2 separate regions of the Homo sapiens genome follow, and region 1 is linked to region 2. The links are contacts of gene promoters, found by promoter capture Hi-C in blood cells and fetal thymus (Javierre and others, 2016). All regions are on one chromosome and are shown on one strand. Each heading gives the region's core, a stretch centred on a gene start or on the middle of the fragment in contact. The rest is flanking DNA. Distances are from core to core; before and after follow the strand shown. Region 1 overlaps AGBL4 (AGBL carboxypeptidase 4). Region 2 holds the start of BEND5 (BEN domain containing 5).

Region 1 (7,458 bases), core at 4,221-6,720, 52 kb before region 2:
CCCAGAGTCTTAACTCATTCCAGCATCAACTCTAATATCTAATGTTCAAAGTCTCACTTAAATATCATCTAAATCAGATATGGGTGAGACTCAAAATACAATTTATCCTTAGGCAAAATTCATCTCCATCTATGAAGCTATGAAACCAGACATATGTTATGTGCTTCCAGAATACAGTGCTAGGGTAGTCATAGAATTGACATTCCTATTCCAAAAAGGGAGAAATCGGAAGGAAGAAAGAGGTGATGGATTCTGAGCAAGTCCAAAACATACCAGGGAGAACTCCATTAGATATTATGGCTTGCAAATAACCCTCTTTGATTCAATGCTCTGCCCCTAAGGTACTGGGCAGGGGCATTCTGATCTGTCAACACCAGAGTGGGAACCCCACCCTTTGAAATGGAAAAGGAACTAGCCCTGTCCCCTGGGCCTGTGGTGGAAGTGGCAGTCCTGATAATCTCTGAATTACTTTTGGTGTCAATCTTCCCCTTTTTTGAGGAACAGGGCACATTTATAGCTAAATAGCTCTATGTTTTTATCTTGTAAAATACAAGAAGCCCAACAACCATGCTTCATTCTGTCCTGATTTCTGAGTCTCCTTTACTTCTAGCTGGCAGTGTTTCCCCTGGTATAATCTCATTTATTCATGGCTTCTGTTGAGATGGCTGATTAAGTTCATGAGTTATACCAATGGACCAATGATCTGTTTATCAAATGATAGTCTGGCCACCTCCTTGGTGTTCTCTTCTAAACATATGTTCTCACTTTCTGCAATATGGATAAATTGAGAATTTTCCAAATCTTTACATTCAGCTTGCTTTTTGCTTAACAATTCACCCTTTCAATTCATCTCTCTTCTCACATTTTATTATAAGCAGCCAGGAGGAACCAAGCTAGTTCTTTTACACATTGCTTAGAAATCCCTTCAGCTAAATATCCAATTTCATTGTTTGCAAGTTCTACCTTTCACAAAACACTAGAACACAGTTCAGCCAAGTTCTTTGTCACTTAATAACAGATTGCAAAAGGATTGCCTTCCCTCTAGTATCTAATAACATGTTTCTCATTTCCATCTGAGACATCAACAGATGTGCTTTTAATGTTCATATGTCTAACTTGCACCTCAAAACTCTTCCAGCCTCTGCACACTACCCAGTTCCAAAGCCATGCTATGTGTTTCAGCATTTCTAGCAGCAGCATCCCACTTCTCAGCACTAAACTGCACTACTTAGGGTTCTGTAGATAAACAGAACCAATAGGAGACCTAGATCTGTATTGTAAGTAATTGGCTCACATGATTAGGGAGGCAGAGAGGTCTCATCATCTGCAACTGGCAAATTAGAGACCCAGGAGAGCTGGTGATGTAGCTCCAGTTTGAGTCTGAAGGCCTGAGAACCAGAACTGATGGTGTAAATTCTTATCCAAGTCCAAAGGTCTGAGAACCAGGACAGCCAATGGTATAAGTCAGAGTCTGAGGACAGGAGAAGATGTGTAAGCTTAGGCACTCAGGAAGAGAGCAAATTTTCCCTTTCTCTGCCTTTTTATTCTATCCAGGCTCTTAACAGATTGAATGAGGCTCACCCACACCAGAGAGGACAATCTACTTTACTTAGTCTATTAATTGAATATTAATCTCATCCAGAAACACCCACATAGGCATGCCCAGAAATAACATTCAAGCAAATATCTGGGCACTCCGTGATCCAGTCAAGTTGACACATAAAATTAACCATCACAGTCTCTTTCCTTTTATTTGCAATAATTTGAGGTCCTCTTTGTGCCAGGCTCTGAGCTACCCACAAGAGGGGCAAGAATTCCAAGCCCTGAACCTCAAGGTACTCACAACCTAGCGAGTACCTTGAAAAACTTTGTGGCAACAATAAGAGGGAAAGGTTATTGATGCCATTAGAGCAGAGAAAACATGATTACCTTAGAAAGCCATGTTCTCCCCTGAGATGGAGTCTGAGCTGTGCAGAATTCACACGGCAGGTCCATCAACTCGCTAAAGTATTAGGATGTTTATTTGTGTGACTATGAGTCTATGAGTACCTTCTAAAAACAGCAACCATCTCCTTATGTAAGTGCCAGTGAGCGGATGCAGCTCCAGGAGAGGAAACCCCAAGCATTTTCCAGTGTTTCCCCAACCACCTTCAGTGCCAAGGGCTCTGGGGAGCAAGGACATTATGCCAGACACTCCTGACTTCTTGATCCTACTGCACCCCTTCTACTTTGTGTATGAAAGTAATGCCTTAATCTCTCTGACTCATTTTTCTTCACTTATAAAATGGGGATAATTAAAAAGTACCCTCAGGGTTGTTCTGAGGATCAACTGGGATAATGATTCAGTGTTCTACCTAACACATTGCCTGCTAAAGTAGATCTGTAATGAAGGTGAATCTTTCTCACATCCCTCCACTTGTCCCCACTCTATATCCCTGTATTGCCAGGTCTGATTACTGTCAAAACATGGATTTCCTTGCAGAGATGAGGTAATCCTCACTCAGCAAAAAGAAACTGCTTTTCACAACATGTGTTTATTCATTCAGTGAGTTTTTATTGTGTACCGATTATGTATGAGAGAATAGATTTCAATGTAACTAAAAACCTCACCCAACTCATGTCAAAATCTTGCTCAATCCACAAATGCCCTTTCAAGTTAATTCAGCTATCCCATATTAAGTACTACCATGTGCCAAGCACTGAGTTAGTGGCTATGATTCAGAAACAAAGGATACATTGTCCTTGCTTCAAGAAGTTAAAAAATCATATGCTGCAAAAAACTAAATGTTACAGCAGAGGTGCATAAAAAGTATAAAGGGAGCCCAGAGACATCCTTCCCGACAAAGTAAGGCAAGGCTTCAGAAAGGAAGTAATAGTCGAACTTGGCTTCAGCAGAGAGGTAGGATTAACTTGCATCTGACTTACATCTCTGTAGCACTTGGGATTTTGCAAAATATTTTGGTAACAAGAGGCTCTCTCAGATATGGAACCTTGTTCTGGGCCCCAGTAGGAGGGAGGAGCGCCTGGATCATAGCTGGAAGGATGGAGGAGAGGGACTTAGTTCTTCCAGCCCAGAGGGCCAGAGAGCTGAGGTGACTTGCCCAAGGTCACAAAGAAAACAAGCTTATAGACTATACTTCTGCCCTCTACACTAATCTTCCCAGATGTTCATATGGTTCACTCCCTCATGTCATTAAGAATGACTCAAATGGCCTCTCCTCAGAGAGACTTTTACTGAGCCCCAATCCAAAAATTAATTCCTTTCACAGTTCATTTCCTTACCCGAAAATGCTCCCTTTTACTTCACAGGTCTCATTGCTACCTGACATTATATAACCATTTGGGTTTTCTCTATCTTCCCCACAAGATTGTGAGTTGATGGGGACAGGGACCTTGTTTGTCTTGTTCAATGGGAATGTCTAGAACAATGCTTGGTATGTAGCAGGCCCTCAGCAATATTTGTTAGATGAATGAACTTTTACGTTTAAAAAAAATGAAATAATGTTGTGATGAACAGCTTTATTCTTCCATTTTTATACAATTATCCAAATATTTTCTTATGATCTATTCCCAAAAGCAAAATTGCTAGGTGCCCAAAGTTATTTATTGATTAGCTCAGTGACTGGCATACAGCAGATATTTGATTAACATCTACCAAGTGACTGAAATTGAATGTTTTTCTTGAATGGCACCAAATTAACTGATTCCAGATTTGAATTCTGCCAGTATCTAATTGAGCATCTAAACCATTTGTTCATTCATTTATTAACTTATCAGACATTACCTACATTGTGGATACAAAATCGGGGGAATTGGTCCCCTGACCTCAAGAGGCTCTCAGTCTAATGAGGAAGACAGACAGGTTAGGCAATAGTTTGGCACTAAGCTAGAAACTCATTTTCTCTTACCAGTGATCCTGGCTACTTGGTTCTTAACATGTATAACCTCAGGCAATTTGTATGACCCCTCTGAACTTGTGTTTTCTCATCTGTAAAGTAGAGTTGCAATGCCTATTTCACAGGGCTGTGGAGAAGAATGGCATGTGAATGCACATAGAAACACTTGGGATACTGCCTGGCATATAGCAAGAGTTCTACAAATGTTAATTAACATTATTTCTAGCCTCATTTTATAGAAACGACTGAGGCGCAGCAAAAATTCAACTGTTTGTCTAAGGTAAGTAGTATAGATGGAATTTGAATCCAGATCTCCCAACTTCATTCCCAGGCACTCCCTGCATTGTGATTCTGCCTGCATCATTAAGACCTCTTTTCCTGTGGCTGCTACCTTCTCCCAGACTTTGGAACATGGGTACCAAGCCTTGAGTTGAGTCTCTAGGCCTCCTGGTGCTCATCCAACCCTTGCTCCCCTACTCTCTCTTTTTCCTTTGCACTATGCTGACAGCCCCCTAACTGCAACCCCACATGTTAATAGTTTTATGAAAAAAAATGTATTTTGATAATTAAGCTGGTGGAATTTAGAAATCAACAGAACAGTACATTTTCCCAGCAGAGCCAAGAAATTAATTAGGAGCAATTTGCTGTCAGAAACAATTTCCATAATTTTAAGTTTAAAAAAAAGCAGAAAATCATTTTTGTGGGTTTTTTTTTTCCTGCTTTCCATTCCAAAGTGGTTTAACTCCTGGAAAAACAAATTCTTCCAACTACCCTATTTTCTGTTCTTCAGTCTCTTCCCCTGAGAGATGTTTCAGCCTCTCTCTGACTGGTTATATTCAAGGGTGAGGAGGAATAATATGAGACAGAACCTTTTTGATCCCCTCCTTCACCCCATAGGGCAGAACTTATACTTTTCCAATGGCATGATTATAAAATGTGCACATTCCTATCTCAGTAATGGGGGGATATATGATGCCTTTGGAAAGGAGACTGAAAGGGGAGAAACAGAGGTCATGGTACACTGAATGAGGGTCCTAGTGGGCCACCAGGCAGACAAGACTGCTCTATAGAGAGGCATTAAAGCATTGTGGCCAACGGCATAGGCTGTAACTCTGGAGCCAGACTGACTAGGATCACATCTCAACACTGTCCTTTTACTATCTATGCGATCCTGGTATAGTTCTTTAATTTCTCTGTGACTCAGTTTCCTGATAAAGTAGCTCTGATGGTTTATGATGGTCCACCAAGCTCTTATGTCCACACTAAGACCACAATGCCTGGCATATGGCAAGTGCTCATGACTGTTTCTGATGATGAGTGGCAGGAACAAGCTCCCAAAAAGAGAAGTGTAAGCTGTCACTGGGTTCATCTTAGACCTTGGACACTCTAGTTCCAGACTCAGAATGGCCAAAACTAAAGATCTATTCTATCTCAACAACCCTTTATTTTGGAAGGCATCATAGCAAAGAGCAATGGTTGTGAGATATCTTACACACATACACACACACACGTACACAATGCTAAGAATAGTGAAAATACCAAGGTTTGCAAATGATCTACTTTTTTATATGAGGTAAAGCAGATTTAAAGTTACTTCTATGATAATGATAATGTCACTCTTCATTTTCTTACAATTCAAATATGAGAGGAAAAAAAGGGAGTTGAGTTATAACTAGAGCTAAGTAATGGATTTTAACTGGCAGAACTGGCAGCCTAGAATTATCCTTAACACAACCTGTTGTGAACAAGCATTACTGTTGCACAGTTAATAGTTTTGACTGAGTTGTTATCATGTATTATTTCCATGATATTTTTTAGTTTCATCTAAATCTGAATGTATCAGTCAGTACATAACCAAGAAAAAAAATCACTCCAAATATTTGAAACAAAGAGGATTCAATGCAGGGAACTGGCACCAGTTGAGAAGCCAAACAGGAAATGGTAAAGAAACTCAGAGATTAGCAACAATAGGAAGATACTCTCACCCTGGGCATAAGGGTCAAAGGGAGAACAGGTGGCACTGGATCCTAGGAGCCATGGTTACCTAGCAAAAGATAGAGCCTTGGCAACCTCCATGGCTCTATCCAGCAAGTGCTAGAGCAATGGAGGAGACTCAGCTGCTGCCAGAGACACCTCTATGGTGGTAGGAGGGGAGTAATCCGTCTTCTCTCTTCTACTGTCTGATGTTTTGGCATGAGGTGGGAGAGATTTGAACCCCATTTTCTTTTTTTCTTTTTTTTTTTTTTTGAGATGGAGTTGCCCAGGCTGGAGTACAGTGGCGCAATCTTGGCTCACTGCAACCTCCACCTGCTGGGTTCAAGCAATTCTTCTGCCTCAGCCTCCCAAGTAGCTGGGACTACAGGTGCATACCACCATGCCCGGCTAATTTGTGTGTGTGTGTGTGTGTGTGTGTGTGTGTGTGTGTGTGTGTGTGTGTATTTTTAGTAGAGACGGGGTCTCACATGCTGGGCAGGCTGGTCTCAAACTCCTGACCTCGTGATCTGCCCGCCTCGGCCTCCCAAAGTGCTGGGATTACAGGCATGAGCCGCCGCTCCTGGCCCCCATTTTCAATACTTACTAGCAATGCAGCTCCCTGCTAGTCCCCAGCCTGTTTTCACTTTTGTGACTCCATTTGTAAAAGGGAATATCCACCACATGAGGTTTGTCTCATCCCCCAGCCTGTGGAAAATTTCCCAGCTGTCATGATTCTGTACAGCTAAGACTGTTTCTTGCTTGCAACCCGCTTAAAAGGGCTTCCTAAACAAGGAAGCATGCAGAACTACATGTCTGCACACAGTAGTTACTCAAGAAATTATGTTTGCCTTGAGTTGAAGTTGATAACTGCATGGGGCAGTTATCCAGAGCAAGGACATGGAGCCAGACAATCTGAGAGCCAAGAAAACGATAGCAGTGTGGATGGTGGCCAACAGTGTGAAGACACAAGACCAGAGCTTTCACCCCAGTAGGCTTCTGGGGCTTTTCTGTAGCATAAGCAGATGTTGGCTGTATGTAAAGACCCATGACCTGGGAAGCTAGGGAGAGGCCAGGATTATAAGAGTTAATATTTACAAAGTGCTTGCCATGCCATTTTGTGAGAGATAAGAATTACTTTCCCTATTACTCCTCTTTCATTTGCTTCAGCATGAATTTACTAAGCACCTTGGCTATATCGAGACCTGCTCTAGTCAGTAAAGATGCAGAGACAGTATAATGGAGGAAAGACATGGAAGCAACCAACTAAAATTCAAATACTGCAGACTTTCTACCAAATGAAAGTATAGTACAGTAATAGCATACTGAGGCAATACAAAAATGGTAATTCTGATTTAAGAAATCAGGGGTAATTTCAAAGAAAACATAGCATTTGTCCAGAATCTTGAAGGACAAACAAGATCTTGACTTGTTTGAGATCTTGACTTATCTTGATCTTGATAGAGGGGGAAAGAATATTCAGGCAGTGGGAAAAGCATAGTGGTGAAAGAGTGCAGAGCCTATTTGAGGACTGGTGAATAGTCCCATGTAGCAGACTCCGGGGCATGGGGATAAGAGGAGAGTGTGAAGT
Region 2 (7,366 bases), core at 4,846-7,345:
GGCAAAACTATGGAGACAGTAAAAAGATCAGTGGTTGCAAGGGTTGGGGCTGCTGAGGTGGGCTAAATAGGTGGAACACAGAGGATTTTTAAGACAGTGAAGTTAGTCTGTATGATACCATAATGGTGGATACATGCCATTATATTTTTGTCCAAAGTCATAGAACGTACACCAAGAGTGAACTCAAATGTAAACTGTGGACTTTGGGTGATGATGATGTGTCAATGTAGGTTCATCAGTTGCAACAGATATACCACTCTGGTGGGGGATGTTGGTATTAAGGAGGCTATACCTGTGTGGGTGATAGGAGGTATGAAGGCAATTTCTGTACTTGCCTCTTAATTTTACTATGAACCTAAAACTACTATTTAAAAAGTCTTTCAAAAATGTAAAAAGCAGAGACTTGAAAAGTCTAATCAAACATCACAGGGAAAAAAGGCAAAATCATGAAAAAATGTGGTCAATCATTAGCAGAGAGGTTGAAAAGGCACGCTCCAATTGCTTTAAAAATTTACAAAACCCAGGTCTCCTTAAAAATAGTTTTGCAAACTACATTGAGAATTCCATGTAGTAATATGAAACATAAGTCCCACTGCTGCCACTGAACATGCTTCAGCTGGCTAAACCAAAGGAGCCTGACATTAACCCAAGGCTCTGCAAAACTCAACAGGAGAGTGGAGTGGAGATGCAGTTGCAAAGCTGCCCCAGATGTGTACATTTTCTGCTCCATTAAAATGACTTGGATGAAAGGCAAAGCACATTTGGCCCACAGAAAAAGAGAGTCGGGGGAGGGGTGAGACAGGACAGTCAGCGTCTTCGCAGGCCTCTGTCTCCCCAGACTTGCGTCCCCTCCAATCCTTCCCCACAATGTTTCTAGAGCAAACTGTCTAAAATTGAAATATAACCACAAGCCTTCCAGGGCTCCCCAGAGCCAAACTGCTTTGCCATAGTTCTCCATGTTCTCAACTCTATCATGTGTTTAATAACACCCACCTGAAGAATTTGGTGTGAAGTAATTGAGATCATGTATACACAGCGCCTGGCATGCATGATTTATAAGCTTTAGAGAAAAAATAGGTATTACAATTATCATCACTGAAACCAGGTCATATGAGGAGAGACAGGTGAAGGAAATGAAGATGTTTGGGCAGAAGACAAAGAGCTGGGAGACAGGATTCCAAGTTTCACCATGTCTGAAGGGCAGGCGTGAGAGTCTTGGTGAACCTAGTATGGCTGCTATAAGGTTAAAGATTCTACCTCAGTGCAAGTAAAAAAGACCTTTCTAACACTTGGTAATGTATAAAAGTTAAGGGGAGCTAGTAAGCTTCCTGGCATTAGAACTGTATAAAAGGTGTTCTAGATGCCCATTTGGCAGAAATATTGAAGAGGGGATTCAACAATGATTTGGTTAAACTTGAAGTTTGCAGTTGCCTCTTTAAGTCTGAAATCTGTATTTAAACTATCTTTGCTCACCAGTCAATGAATCATCAATATCTTGAGTATCTGGTATGTGTAAAGCCCAGGGCTATGGTCTCCAGGTCAAAGTACTGTTGCTCAGTTTTCAGTAGGGTGGAAGAGGCGCCCTATGGCACATAGTAGGTTTTCCATTAAGCTGTATCCATAGACTGAATGTGTGAGTCACACAGGAAGCAGGAACTGACGTCTTTCTGGTGCCGTCCAAGGGTATCTCTTTAAGCATCCCGTGCCAGTCATGACTACTCCAGAATCGATTCTGTGGATCTATGAAACATGTGTTTTGATCTGTGTTTACTCTGTCAGCATCCGGGTCCATCGTCTGTTCTTTTCCTCTTTCTGGGTTATCGGAAAATGGAACTGCCTCCTTATAGGAATGATTTACAGTGACATGGGTAGGGAATTTGAACCCCAGGGTGCAGTGATATTTAATATGTTAATGAATGTGTCTGTCTTACAAGTGGTAGAATCAATGTTCTTCTGCCCTTCGATCACTGGGAATGGGAAAGGCAGAGTTGGGATTCAGCATCAACCCTTAAAAAGGGGAACAGACTATGCAGAAGCTCTTTAGTTTAATTAGATCCCATTTGTCAATTTTGGCTTTTGTCGCCATTGCTTTTAGTGTTTTAGTCATGAAGTCTTTGCCCATGCCTATGTCCTGAATGGTATTACCTAGGTTTTCTTCTAGAGTTTTTATGGTTTTAGGTCTTACATTTAAGTGTTCAATCCATCTTGAGTTAATTTTTGTATAAGGTGTAAGGAGGGGGTCCAGTTTTAGTTTTGTGCATATGGCTAGCTAGTTTTCCTAACACTATTTATTAAACAGGGAATCCTTTCCCCAATGCTTGTTTTTGTCAGGTTTGTCAAACATCAGATGGTTGTAGATGTGTGGCATTATTTCTGAGGCCTCTGTTCTGTTCCATTGGTCTATATACCTGTTTTGGTACCAGTACTATGCTGTTTTGGCTACTGTAGCCTTCTAGTATGGTTTGAAGTCAGGTAGCATGATGCCTCAGTTTTGTTCTTTTTGCTTAGGATTGTGTTGGCTACATGGGCTCTTTTTTGGTTCCATATGAAATTTAAAGTAGTTTTTTCTAATTCCGTGAAGAAAGTTAATGGTAGCTTGATGGGGATAGCATTGAATCTATAAATTACTTTGGGCAATATGACCATTTTCACAATATTGATTCTTCCTATCCATGAGCATGGAATGTTTTTTCATTTGTTTGTGTCCTATTCTCTCTCATAAGTGGGAGGTGAACAATGAGAACACATAGATACGGGGAGGGGAACATCACATACCGGGGCCTGTAGGGGGGTGGGGGGCTGGGGGACTAGGGGAGGGATAGCATTAGGAGAAATACCTAATGTAGTTGATGAGTTGATGAGTGCAGCAAACCATCATGGCATGTGTATACCTATGTAACAAACCTGCATGTTTTGCACATGTATACCAGAGCTTAAAGTGTAATAATAATAATAATATTAATAATAATAAAGGCCGGGCGCGGTGGCTCACATCTGTAATCCCAGCACATTGGGAGGCCGAGGAGGGTGGATTGCCTGAGGTCAGGAATTTGAGACCAGCCTGACCAACATGGTGAAAACTCGTCTCTACTAAAAATACAAAAATTAGCCAGGCGTGGTGGCGAGCACCTGTAATCCCAGCTACTTGGGAGGCTGAGGCAGGAGAATCGCTTGAACCTGGGAGGTGGAAGTGGCAGTGAGCCGAGACCAGGCCATTGCACTCCAGCCTGGGCAACAAGAGCGAAACTCCGTCTCAAGAAAAAAAAAAAAAAAAAAAAAAAGAGAGGAACAGACTTTCAAGAAAAAATGTGCAAGAGGTTTGTTATTCATGCTCTCTTTATGTCCTTCTTTAATACATTTGTTTTATAAACATTTACTCCCCAGCCCTGTGCTAGGTACCTGGGATGCTAAAGTTACTCAGCCTTTGCCTCCCCTCAAAGAGCTCTTATTCTAGTGAGGGAAGATAAAAAGTGCTGGGACAAAATATTGTAGTAGAAAGAGATAGGCTATCCTTGAAAAGTGTGGGTGGTTGGGAAAGGCTTCACAAAGGCAATGACATTTGAGCTGATTTTCAGGGTAAGTTGAGGAAGGAAGAACTTCCCAGGATGAAGGCAGAAAAAGCACAAAAGCTTGGGACCTGCTAAAACATGCTATCTTTGGAAATGTCAAATAGTTTAGGTGTCTGGAGTGTACTGTGTCTGGGAAGGTAGTAAGAGATGAGATTGGTAATGTTTTGTGGTCACCCCCATTTAGATGCAGAGAGGAGGTTGGCCATTGGCTACTTGAAATCATTTTGGGAACATAGTCCGGAGCTTCAAGGACTTTTGTTAAATACGGCCAACTCTGCATGATCCATCTTGTGAATTATCAGAAGTCTTGCTGCACATTACTTCCCCTTGACCACCATAGGAATGTATTCTTAAAATAAAAACTCACTGAGGATCAGTCCAAAGAAATCATAATCATGACAGTAAATGTGCTGGAACAACTCAGAGTGGCTCCTTTTTTTTCCACAAGCTTGTGGGGCAAGATAAGACCAACAGCTGCATCAGGACAAGTGGTGGTCATTTTTGGCTGTACCACATAACCAGTGGGTTGGTTTAAAAAAATTTGTACTGACCTACACATTTGGATATGAGAGCTATATGTTGATGGGATTCACTTATATAACGCACTGTCTATTTCACAGTGAAATAAATATCTGCCTCATTGTCAGTGCAGCTGATGTGAAATATGAGCACAGTGCTTTGATTTTATAATGTTTGATGTTTTCTGATGATAAAGTAATAAAACATTGTGGAAAATAGTTACATACACACACACACACACAATGAATACAAGGAAAAACAAAATCATCTACCACTACTAAGAAGCTAAAAAAATCACTATTAACATTTTGGTGCACTTATTCTGTTTTTTTCTTACAGCTAAAGTTTATTAAGATGAATTTTTAAAAATATAACATTTAATTGAGTCCAACACCTCCATTAAGCATTCCTCTATGACAATACTTTTCTCATTATACTGTCATTACTTGCTTATACTTCTTTAATACTCCTAGACTAGATTGTAAAGGTTGTGAGGATGGGAAAGGTATGTTATTCATACAGTTACCTAATTTTGGCACAGGAACCCAAAACTGAGATTCAAGTTCTGGTACACTGACTTTGCAAGGCCCAAGAATCCAGGTGTTTATCTTTTCATTTCTATCACCAGCACCTGGCCCAGAATCTGGCAGGTGGTGTAAACTCAGTGAATATTGGTTGCTTGAATAAAGGAATGAATGAACAGATGGATGGATGGTTGGATGGATGGATGGATGGATGGATGGATGGATGGATGGATGGATGTGGGTTTTTATTTATTCTTCTTTACCCAAAATTCATTAACTCCCTGTCAAGTGCCAGGTCTGGCTAGGCAACAGAAATATAACTAGCCATATTTGATACGAGGCATCCCTGTGAAGGTACTGACCTCCTCTGATGTGGGATAGGGTTCCTATGAGTACAGAGCCCAATCAGCCCCCTTTGGCTGGTCCTCACGGCTTGTCTTGGAGGGGACCCAAGCCCCTCCAGGCTCTCTTTGGCAAGAGACAGAGCAAAGACCGCTATTCCATGGAGTACTATTCCTGTACTCTTCAAAGTGCTCCAGAAATCCCTAGCCTTGGGCCTGTGTTACCCAGAGCGCTCCTCAACTCCCTCCGCGATTCCAAGTTGTCCCTGCTCAGTGGTGGGCGTGCTGTGGAGAGGGTATCTCAATGGAGAAAGACTATAGAGGAGAGGGGCGCCACTGCTCCCTCAGATGAGAGCAGCCCTTGACAAACCTTCCACCTCCCCAGCCAGCTGGCACAACTGGAAATCTCAGATAAGCCCCAGTTCTGGTCAGAACTGGTTTGGCAGCTCTAGGGGAAATTTTCTGTCTGACTGACCCTTTCCACAGAGGGAGCTGGCAGTTTTGCAGAACAAAACAAACAAACAAACAAACAAAAAGAAAGAAAGCAAAGAAAAGGCGGGGCCAAACTAAGGGCTGGGAAAGGCGCGGGGAGGGTGCGGGGCTGGGGGCGCGGGTAGGGTGGCTACATTTAAAACACTCCAAACTTCTGCTGGCTTCCAAGTTTACACTTTGAGATTCAATCAAGATTGCCCCCACCCCTATCCCGCATTCACTCACTCATACACTTCTCTACTTGGCAATGCAGTTTTGTTGCAATGCAATTTGGCAGCGCGATTGTTGAAGCAATATAATCCTGCACGCAGCGCACCTTTTAATCAATGCATTTTTTTCCTGCAATGCTCTTGTTATTATTTTTATTGCAACTGAATCTCTGAACCCTTTTCCCTCCCCATTCGAATCGCGCTCCGGCTGTGATTGCTCGGGTCTGACTTTGCAAGTGGCAGTGCGCTTCCAAACCCCCCTCATCCGCCCCTCGTCCCCCTTTCCCCCCCTCCCTCCCTTTTCCGCGCCCAGGCGAAAGCAGCCGATTGGCAGAACGGTGCTTTCAGGAACAATAACAGTGGGGGGAGCCTGGGTCCTGGGGAGCCGCCCCCGCCCCCCCCAGCACCGTAGCGAGACTCGCGCCCCCCGCCGGATCCCCACCTCCGCGCCCGCCCCGCGGGCTGAGCTGCCCGACCGGGGCCCGCCCCCGGCGCCCACCATGTACGCCTTTGTGCGGTTCCTGGAGGACAACGTCTGCTACGCGCTGCCCGTGTCGTGCGTGCGCGACTTCAGCCCCCGCTCGCGGCTGGATTTTGACAACCAGAAGGTGTACGCCGTGTACCGGGGCCCGGAGGAATTGGGCGCCGGGCCCGAGAGCCCCCCGCGCGCCCCCCGCGACTGGGGCGCGCTGTTGCTCCACAAGGCCCAGATCCTGGCGCTGGCAGGTGAGCAAGCGGGCGGGGAGGGACGGTGGGACCCGGGCGGGGGCTGGGACCCCGGGAGGGGCCGGGGGCCCGGGCGGAGGGGACCGGGGGGAGCCACTGCTTGCTCCTTCCTGCCTCCTTCTCCCGTCCTCTGGGCATTTCATTTGGGAACGGGGTGTCTCTAAGAGGCCAGGCCAGTTAAAAAGACCGGATGGTCCCCTTTGTCTTCCCCGCTTCCCCGAAGCTCCCGCGCTGTCAGTCCGTCTTCATCTCTTCATCTGTGTCTGTCCTCCTCTTTCTGATTCTTTGTGTTTTCTTCGTTCCTTCACTTTCCATTTTTCTCCCTACCTGTTTGTACCGTCATTTCTCTCTCACCTTCTCTTTACCTCTCTCCCAGTTCCTTCCCTCTGTTCTTTTCTGTCAAGAATTAAGTTTCTCAAGCTGTCTGTCTCTCTCCCTTTAAAGGCTGTTGGTACCTCCTTGGAGTGAGGAGCAAGAAGGATATTGTCAGATCTTCTAGGTGGGAGTCCCTCCTCACAGAGGGAAGCTATGACATCCTTGTCCCATCCGGGCCAACATTGGACAGGATGAGGAGGCCATGAACCTCAGTGCACTGGGCTCCACACCACACTCTCCTGCCCCTCCCTGGCCAGGTGGCAGAGGTAAGGAGGTAGAGGCCCTAAGGCATCCCTCAGCCTCCACACCCCTTTCTGAATCTCCCAGAAGGCTCCCTGAATGAGAGAGTTGAGGGCCAGGAGAGAGTTTCTGGGTCAGAATAACACTGGACCTCTCATCCCTGCCCTGCCAGGGCCCTGAGAGATGGGCTAAGGCAGCTAGTCTCATCTCCATTTCGTAGATGAGGGTACTGAGGTTCAGTTGGTGATAGGGAAAGAAACCAGCCCTTTATCCTCCTATGCTCCAGTTCTTCCTGCCATGCTGAGACACCTTTTCCTTTGTAAAGAGAAGACAGCTGGCCCTCTTTCCCAGCTAGTTCCAGAAAGTTTGAG

What was found. Contacts are between HindIII fragments. The CHiCAGO score rates a contact against its expected background, and 5 or more counts as called.
Region 1: a contact is called between a fragment that was not itself captured here and the fragment with the promoter of BEND5 in region 2, in 1 of 17 cell types (total B cells). The highest score is 6.3, in total B cells.

What each region holds. Positions count from the first base shown.
Region 1 is chr1:48,826,871-48,834,328 of GRCh38, reverse strand. The region is part of intron 6 of AGBL4 (AGBL carboxypeptidase 4); the gene reads left to right. Among named protein-coding and RNA genes, the nearest start is that of BEND5, 54 kb to the right of the region's middle. The HindIII fragment of the contact is 4,690 bases long and covers 3,126-7,458 here.
Region 2 is chr1:48,775,620-48,782,985 of GRCh38, reverse strand. It overlaps BEND5 (BEN domain containing 5), which reads left to right and starts at 6,095. Exons shown (of 6, transcript NM_024603.4): 1 at 6,095-6,380. The coding sequence starts at 6,155. The region is part of intron 6 of AGBL4 (AGBL carboxypeptidase 4); the gene reads left to right. The HindIII fragment of the contact is 5,361 bases long and covers 4,020-7,366 here.